2 separate regions of the Homo sapiens genome follow, and region 1 is linked to region 2. The links are contacts of gene promoters, found by promoter capture Hi-C in blood cells and fetal thymus (Javierre and others, 2016). All regions are on one chromosome and are shown on one strand. The core of a region is centred on a gene start or on the middle of the fragment in contact, and the rest is flanking DNA. Distances in the headings are between cores, read along the strand shown.

Region 1 (4,736 bases), core at 1,792-4,291, 240 kb before region 2:
GCCATCCCATTACTGGGTATATACCCAAAGGATTATAAATCATGCTGCTATAAAGACACATGCACACGTATGTTTATTGCAGCACTATTCACAATAGCAAAGACTTGGAGCCAACCCAAATATCCATCAATGATAGACTGGATTAAGAAAATGTGGCACATATACACCATGGAATACTATGCAGCTATAAAAAATGATGAGTTCATGTCCTTTGTAGGGACATGGATGAAACTGAAAACCATCATTCTCAGCAAACTATCGCAAGGACAGAAAACCAAACACCACATGTTCTCACTCATAGGTGGGAACTGAACAATGAGAACACTTGGACACAGGAAGGGGAACATCACACACTGGGGCCTGTCGTGGGGTGGGGGGAGGGGGGAGGGAGAGCATTAGGAGATATACCTAATGTAAATGACGAGTTAACGGGTACAGCACACCAACATGGCACATGTATACATATGTAACAAACCTGCACGTTGTGCACATGTACCCTAGAACTTAAAGTGTAATAAGAAAACATTTAAAAAAGAAAAGAAAATAGAATAGCCAAAACAATTTTGAAACAAGAAATATAGTTGGAAGAATGACATTAGCTGACTTTGAGACATTCCATAAAGCGACAGCAATGTAGACAGTGTGGTATGGGCAGAGGGGTAGACACACAGATCAAGGGAAAAGCACGGAGTTGAGATGTCACTCGCACACACAAGACTGCGCTAATTTATGACAAAGGGGCAAGACAACTAAATGGAGAAGTGTCTGCTGCAATCACAAAATACCTGTGACTGGGTATTTTACAAACAATAGAAGTACATTTCTCACAGTTTTGGAGGCTAGACGTCCCCAGATCAAGGTGCCAGTATTCTGCATCTGGTGGAGGCTCTTTGCTGTGTCCTTTTGGTGGAAAACATAAGGGGCAAAAAGGACCCAAGCTCATCCCCCCCAGCCCTTTAATGAGGCACTAATCTATGCCTGAGAGCAAAGCCCTGACTTGATCACTTCTCAAGAGACCCCACCTCTTAGTAACACCATAACAGGGGTTAAGTTACAGCGCATGAATTTTGGGGAACGCATTCATACCAGCGCGCGAAAGGAGAACCGTTTCCAAAAAATGGCATTGGAACAATTGAACCGCCGTAGACAAAACGAAAACAAAACCTCAACCTCAACCTCATACTTTATATAAAATTAACTCTATGCCCATCATAGACCTAAATGTTGAATATAAAACAATAAAACATTTGGAATAAAACAGGAGAAAGTCTTAGTGACCTTGAATAATAAAAACACACTGTGTAAGAAATAATAATGTGAGTGAAATTCAGTGTCCTTTAAAGATAAAAGGTCACGTCATAAGGAGAGAGACACACTTGGCAGTGCTCCTGGTTGCTGGTGGAGGACCAAGTGAGTCCTTATTTAGAAGGGACATTTTTTTTTTCTGTGCCATTTTCTTCATCGAACATTTAGTCCTTTGAAAGCTTGTGATTATCTTATGTTCAAATGCTATGAAATAATAAAGTCACAGGGCAGTCCCACTGCAGCGTGACAATGAGGGGGAACTCCAGAGATCCACTTCCATGTGAAACTGGTGAAGACTTTAAAAACAAAAACAAACGAAACCCCACCCCCAACAACCATTTAAAGCATCTGCAAATGGCCCTGTAGCCATTTCAAATAGAGAAACATTTATTCAAGAAAATCGACTAAAGCTTAGTGAGAACTGTGTGAGTCTGTGGTATCTGAGCCAATGCGTGTGCCCTCTCCCAGCCCAGTGAGACAGAAGCTCCACTCCAGGCTGTACAGCCAGGAATGCAAGACTATCTCTCCTCCAGTTTCTGTAATTGCCCGACAGGCTCTTCCCGCCCGCTGCACAGACAAAACCAGTTCACTCTGAGAACATGGTATTGCAGTAAATGAAATGTTTAATTAACGCAAGGCCTGCCAGGTGGAAGAACTGGAATGATCACTCAAACCCGTCTCCCTGAAGGCTTGAAGGTTAGGGTTTTTCCAGGACAGTGTGGTGGGTGGGGGGCTGGGGAATGGGTGCTCCTCATTGGTTGCGGGGGCAATCACAGGGGTGTGGAAAATGGTCCTTGTGCCCTGAATCTGCCTCTGGGTGGATAACAACCCCAAAGTGAAAGCAACCCAGACATCCTTCAACGGGTGAACGGTTAAACAAGTCGTGAGTCACGAGTCTGCATGGGGTCAGTTGGAAAACCACCTCAAAAGACCAATCTTAATTCTACCACAGTGATATTATCTATAGGAGCAACTGGGGAAGCCACAAATCTTGTGATCTCTGGACAAATGACTCCTAAGCAGAGGGGGATTATAGAAACTATGCCTATATTTTAGCAGAACTCATGCCCTCCTGTAATTCTAATCTTGTGGTCTTTCATTAGTCCTATAAAGGCAGTTTCAGCTCCCCAAAAAGGAGGGGATTTGTTTTAGGGCGGGACCGTTATCATCCTTGCTTACAAGTTAAACTATAAACTAAATTCCTCCCATGGATATAATAGAGGCAGGAGGCAGACAAATCCCAGGCAGATGGGGGTGGGTCCCCAGTGAAACCTCACCTTCAAGCCAAAACATCCTGAAACCTGCAGCCCAGAGTGAAAACTTCTATTCTTGTTTGCCTGCTCGCTCCGGATTGGTTCATTTTGAATAATGCCTTTTTAACCAATCAAATACTGCCTTTTCCAATACTACCTATGGCCTGGCCTGCCCCCGTCCTGGGCCTATAAAGACTCCAGACTCAGTTGGTAGAGAGAGAGAGAAGGCCTGACTTCAAGGAAGAGATCTCCTGACTTTGGGGAAGACGACCTGCCCTCCCTGTCCCCTTTCCAGTTCCCCTCTCTGCTGAGAGCTGTTTTCATTGCTCAGTAAAAGTCTCCACTTTCACCATCCTTCAATCACCAGCATGACCTCATTCTTCTTGGACGCTGGACAAGAGCTCAGGACCCACAGAGTGCAGGTACCTAGAAAGGATGTCACCCGGGCCCTTTGCCCTCGCCAGCAGAGGGCAGCTGCCCCACGCGATGAGGCCAGGGGCCGACCGAGCTGCTAACACATTGCCCTCCATTGGGATGTGGATGGTGGAACTATAAGAGCTGATTAGAGCACTAACACCCCCTCTGGGGCTTCGGGGTTGCGGGCACCCTTGTCTGGGCACTGCCATGTTCTCCTCGAGGTGACACACCTGGTCTGGCTGTGGGCCCCACGTGGAGTTTGCTCCCGTGTCAGCGTTCAGAGTGGCTGGCCAGATCCCACACTTGCTCGCTCATGCACTCCCTCCCGCAAGGGGCTGAGCATGCTGGGCCAAGTAGATGAGGAGCCTCTGCTGTGAGTCCAGCAAAGAGGCTGAGAAAAAATCCTGCATCAGTTAGCTTGGCCTGAGTCCAGGAATAAGCAAGGACAACCAGCCTATGAGCCAGAAGCAAGATGGAGTCAGCCATGCTAGACCTCTCTCGCTGTCAAAAGGTAGTTTCACTTCCAGTTGGTGAGGCTCTCTTCCTGTGAGGGTCAGTGTGCTAGCATCCTGCCCCCAGCTACCTGTGTCTCAGGCTGAATTCTGAGTGAGTGTGTCCGAGAGGTGAGGGTCCCTTCCTCTACTCAGCCTCAGGTCTCACTCATGCAGCAAAGGCTGCCCTGGGTTCATCATGCTGAGAATCCTGGGTCTCGGGTCTCTGGTCACCTTTGCTCCAGCTTATGGGAGGGGTTCATGCTGAGAGAGGCAAGCTGAGGACACCTGGAGCTGCTGCCCATCACTCAAGTGTCCAGCTTCTAAAGTAGGCATGACACCAGTGAGCCAAGATCCCTGCCGTCAGTTCCAGAGCTGTGGCTTAGAGATTTTGTCCAGGGAGAATGGCAGGATGTAGAACAGAGGATCTCCTAGTCTCTCCCAAAAGGAACTGACTTCATTTGCAACAGAGTATGAAGTTCAAACCTAAGGGTGCTCTCAGAGTCAGTGGCGGTTGTGGTGAAGGGCAACTGGGAGAAGATTGATAGATTCTTTAGAGACGTAGCCTAACTCTAAGATGGCTAGTTTTCTGGAGAGAAATGGAGAAAGAGAGAGCTGGGAAGAGACTTTCTGGGTTAGTAAGAAATCTCAAGCACTGGCCTTTCCTTTCAAAGGAGTCAGAATTTGATTGGATTAGTCTGTGAAGCAATTTATTCCCTAGGGTGATGTCAAAAACAATCGAGCAACCAGCTTGCAATGACGAATTTAGCAGCTGGGTTTGGTCAGGGAAAGAGACGAAGAGAGCCTTCCCACACCCCCATCATATCAAGGTGGACCTGCCCACTACTTCTCAGGGGAAACAGACTTTACTGCAGTATTCCAGTCATTGCAGCTTTCACCTAAAAGCTTTCACACAATTGCTTTGGGCTATTCATAATAGCCCCACACTGAAAATCCAGGCGTCCTTCAATGGGCGAACAGTTAAATAAGTTGGGGCTCGTTCAGCTTATGGAATATGTTTAGCAAGAAAAAGGAATGAACTATTGATACATACCACAGCCTGCTAATCTCCAGAGAATCATGCTGAATGAAAAATAAAAAGCCAATTCAAAAGGTTACATGCTGTTTTATTTCAGTTACATAACATCCTTGAAATGAAAACTTTATAGAAATGGATAACCAATTAGTGTCTCCTAGGGTTTATCGCCCAGGGTTCCGGCAGTGATGAATGTGGTCTGTGTTTTGAAAATATCGATGCCAATATTCTGAT
Region 2 (4,636 bases), core at 2,027-4,526:
AGACTTGGAAGTAAACAAGAAGTCCTTCCGTAGGCAAAGGGATAAACCGAGGTACATCCAGACAATGGAACAATATCCGGCCCGAAAAGAATGCACTATGAAACCACAAAAAAACCCAGAGGAGCCCTAGCTGCATCTCACTCATGGCAAGAAGCCAATCTCGAAAGGCTACGTGCTGTATGATTCCAATGATACCACAGCCTGGAGAGGGCAATGCCAAGGCGGCAGTGGAAAGAGCCAGGGCTGCCAGGGGCCGGGGGAGGCAGGAATGCACAGGCAGGGCAGAGGCAGCTTTTCAGGCAGTGACACTTCTGTGTGACACCATAGTGGTGGCTAAAGGACATTTTGCAAGGATGAAACCTGGGGGTAAACTCTGGACTTAATAGTAATGCATCAGTATTGGTTTATCAATTGGAACAGATCACACCACACGATGCAAGATGTTAATAATGGAGGGGCACTCAAGGAGAGGGGGTCTGTGGGAACTCTGTATACTCCCTGAGCAATTTTTCTGTAAGCCCAAAGTTCCTCTAAAAGATAAGGTCTACTTAAAAAGGACCAATTATTGGGCCAGGTGCAGTGGCTCATGCCTGTAATCCTAGCACTCTGGGAGGCCGAGGCAGGTGGATCACCTGCGGTCAGGAGTTCGAGAACAGCCTGGCCAACGTGGCGAAACCCCATCCTTATTAAAAATACAAAATCAGTTGGGCGTGGGGGCCCGCACCTGTAATCCCAGCTACTCGGGAGGCCGAGTCAGGGGAACTGCTTGAACCTACGAGGTGGAGGCTGCAGTGAGCCAAGACTGTGCCATTGCACTCCAGCCTGGGCTACACGTGACCCTGTCTCAAAAAATAAAAAATAAAATACAATAAAATAAAATAAGGGCCAGGCATAGTGGCTCACGCCTATAATCCCAGCATTTTGGGAGGCCAAAGTGGGCGGATCACGAGGTCAGGAGATGGAGACCATCCTGGCTAACATGGTGAAACCCTGTCTCTATTAAAAATACAAAAATTAGCCGGGTATGGTGGCGCACGCCTGTAATCCCAGCTACTCAGGAGGCTGAGGCAGGAGAATTGCTTGAACCCGGGAGGCAGAGATTGCAGTGAGCCAAGATCGCGCCACTGCACTCCAGCCTGGCGACAGAGTGAGAGTGAGACTCTGTCTCAAATAAATAAACAAATAAAAATAAAATGACAATTTATTAGTTGTTTATCTGAACTTCAGATTTAACTGGGCCTGTATTTATCTGGCAGCCTCAACCCCGTGCAGACCATTGATCTCAGGAGAGGCAGGCAGAGCGGAAGCCGCGCTGGCATTTGTGTTCAATGGCAGGTGGGAAGGAGGAAGAGGAGGTCTCCACTGGCTCCCCAGGCATCTCAGAGACCCCCCATACTTAGCATGCCTTCCGGAGGATCCCATTAGCAGACTATCAGAGAAACAGGGATGGAAGGAGTGGTGAGGGGTCTGCTCCATTGTGACCCCACCCCTGCCTCGCCCTGAGGAAGGACCTCAGCTCCTAGCTCAACCGCCGCCCTCCAGCAGCCCCAGTGATCTGAGCAGCACCCACCCGTGACCCACAGCTCGGCCTCCAATCACCCTCCTCTCCACATCGGCCACCCACAACTCTGAACCCAACTTCCAGCAGCCACATATCTCTAAGCACACTGCACAATGTGGCTGCCGAAAGAGGCAGCATTGCATGAACATAAAAGGAAGCCTGAGGACCCCCGGCCCCAGGACCCCCCTTCTCCAGCTCCATCCCTGTCCTGCGGTCTGCTCCTTGGGCCTGGCCAAGGGCACCTGCTGCTGGGCAAAGGCCTGTCTGGTCACCAGCCTCCTGGGACCCTGCCACTGGCAGCCTGGAGCTTCTCCACCTCACGCAGGCCTGGACAACAGTGGGGACGGCTGCCACCACCTTCCCTGCCCACTCTGGCCCACTTCTCACTCCATCCTGCTTCAATGCCTTCATGCTAGATAGACCCCCTGGAGTCATTTCCACTCAAACCCACCCATCAGGAGGAACTCCAGCCCTACCCGGCCCAGGCCCTCGGAGGGGCACAGTGCCCTCTCCTCCTCCTGAATTTCCATCAACCCCAGTGCCCTCCCGCAGCCCTGTTCCCACCTGCAGGCCTGGGCCCCCTGCCCCCAGCAACAACCAGGACCCATGGCCCCGCTTCTTGCTCTGAAGCATGACACCCCTGCCTCTTGCTCTGAAGAACACTTAGGGTGCTGTTGGGTGCGGGAACAAGCCAGGCTTGGGGGTGGGGGGCACGGGCAGTTAAAGAGATAGATGGAGAAGTGGCCTGAATCCAGCCACCAGGCAGAGGAAACCAGGGGAGGAGGGAGAGGCCTGGGGACAGGGGAGGGAGGCTGCTGCCCTCTACTCCCGAAGGGTCCCAGCAGCCCTCCTGGCCAGCACTACCCAAGGAAAGGAGTGAGGACTGGGCCTTGGACGGGGGTCCCTGTAGAGAGGGCCTTGCCAGAGGCTGGAGGGGGCTGGCCAGAAGGGTGGAGAGGGGGTGAGCAAACGGCAAGGCCTGAAGAGGCCAGTGGCCCTCTTGGAGGAGGCGTGGTGGGAGCACCGAGGATGGACAGCGTGGCTGGTGTGGCCAGCGTGGGGGCTGCCAACCGGGCTGGCCAGAAGGGCGAGGTGAGGGGCCCTGGGGTTCCGGGCTCCCGGGTAAAAACAGCCAGATGGAGAGAGGGGCTTCAGACCCCAGGCCCGGGGACCCGCCCTCCCCAGCACTACAGCCCCGGTTCTCCACTTCCAGCTCCCAGCAGCTGCAAGCGCAGCGGTGCGGGGCCAGGCTGTGGCCTGGAGCTGCCAAAGGGCAGGGGCACGGGTGTGGGGGGCGTGCAGGCCGGGGTCCCGGGAGGCAGGGCAGACAGGCCCGAAAGAGTGCGACGGCGGCGGGAGGTCTCTGGGGCTGGGAGGGGTGCGGGCGTGGGCGGGGCGCGAGCAGCAGGGGCGCGGGCCCGGGCTTCAGGCTGTGGGGCCGGGAGTGCGGGGCGGGACTGCTGCGGCCCCGCGTCCTGTGGAGTCTGCGGCGCGGGGAGTGGGGGTCGGGGCGGGGAGGAACGTGGGGTGCGGGACAGGAGGGGGGCAGGGAGGGAGAAGAAGGCGGCGCGGGGCGGGGCGGGCGCAGGGCTGGGGACGGCACGGGCGCGCGGCACGGGCGCTGGCGCGTGCGGGGGGGGCGGCGCGGCCTCCGGAAGCGAGGGGGCGCTGTGCCAGGCGGCGGCCGTGCGGGGCGGGCGCGCTGCTCCTTCCGCCTCGCGGACCCCGGAAGCGCGCGTGGCCGCCATGGCGCGGAATGTGGTGTGAGTAGGGGTCGTCACCCCCCCGTCGCGGGGCGCCCCTTAGTGTCACAAGCAGACGGACCCCACAGGGCGCGCGGACTCCGGGGAGCGGGGTGGGCGTCCCTGGGCCGCCTCCTGGCCCGGGCGAGGCAGGGTTCTCCGGGACCCCCTGTCATGCCTTGAGACACGCGAGGCGGGTGGCGGAGGAGCCCCCCGCCAGGTTTAGGGCAACCCCAGGGGGCGGGCGTGGCCGGGCTGGGGACAGAGGGTCCGAGCCAAACCCATGGAGGCCACGGTGCCCCCGCGTGGGGAGTGGGAGGGTGGCCCGGGGTCAGGCCCGGGGCTGGTCCCGCAGCCAGGGCCGAGGGAGCTGTTTGGAGACGTTTCTGATCGTCACGGGGCGGGGGCCACGTCGGCTGTTGGGTCCAGGCGGGGAGGCCCGGGCGGCCCCCACCGCAGCGCGGGCGCGGCCTGAGGCAGAGGAGCTGGGAATCCAGATTGGGTTTGAGTGGGAAAGGGCAGCTGACCGCAGCCCTCAGGGCTTTGGGGCAGGCAGGGCGGGAGGCCCGGTTCTGCTCAGCCCAGACCCCCCACGCCCACTCTGCATGTTCTCTGGATTCCCAGGGGGCCATCGGGGCGCTGTCCTGCACCACTTCGCCCTCCCCAAATTGAAGCAGGAAGCCCTGCATATTTCTTGGTGAACGAATGACTCAGGCGTAATCAGTAGATGTGGGCTCCCGGGTGGGTTTTGGAGAACAGTAATCAGTGTTTCTGGAGAGGGACGGTCAAGGGGCCAGGGTGTGGCTTTGGAGGCCCCTGCACATAGCTGGGGAGAGAGGGGAGGGTGGCAGGTGGGACCCCCAGTGGAGGAGGCTTCCTTCAGCAGACACCTGGGACCGGTGCTGCGCGTGGCCCTGACCTTGGGGAACACCCAGCACCAAGGAAGAAAAGGTCTGAGTGAGGCCAACACTGCCCTGAGCCTCACGTGAATTCCACGCTGGCCCTTCGCCTGTCCCTGGAGAATGAGGAGGAAGTGAGGGTCAGAGGACCCGGGTGGGGTGTTCCTGAAGGGCCAAGGGTGGTGGGCCCCTGGAAACGGATCAGGTGTGGTTGCCTTGGAGGCAGCGGGGCCCGCTCGCCCAGCAGTGCACACACTCCTGTTGCCAGGGAGCCTTTGCAGGGAGCGCTGACTGGACTTGCTGTGGACTGGATGCAGCTGGGGTGGGGGTGCCGAGAGGGTGGGATCCTGGGTGAGTCACTCGTGGGGCCGTGGGGAGGCAGGCTGGTGGCAGTGAGCCAGGTTTTTGTGTTTTGAGGAAGAAGTTAGTGCAGA

The links. The method cuts DNA at HindIII sites, captures the fragments that hold promoters and counts their contacts. A CHiCAGO score of 5 or more calls a contact.
Region 1: a fragment that was not itself captured here is called in contact with the fragment with the promoter of MRPL23 in region 2 in 1 of 17 cell types (monocytes); the score reaches 5.9 in monocytes.

Annotation. Positions count from the first base shown.
Region 1 is chr11:1,703,758-1,708,493 of GRCh38, forward strand. No RefSeq gene overlaps it. Among named protein-coding and RNA genes, the nearest start is that of KRTAP5-6, 8.9 kb to the left of the region's middle. The HindIII fragment of the contact is 2,657 bases long and covers 1,714-4,370 here.
Region 2 is chr11:1,944,056-1,948,691 of GRCh38, forward strand. MRPL23 (mitochondrial ribosomal protein L23) reads left to right here and starts at 3,277. Exons shown (of 5, transcript NM_021134.4): 1 at 3,277-3,324. The coding sequence starts at 3,308. The HindIII fragment of the contact is 42,193 bases long and covers 1-4,636 here.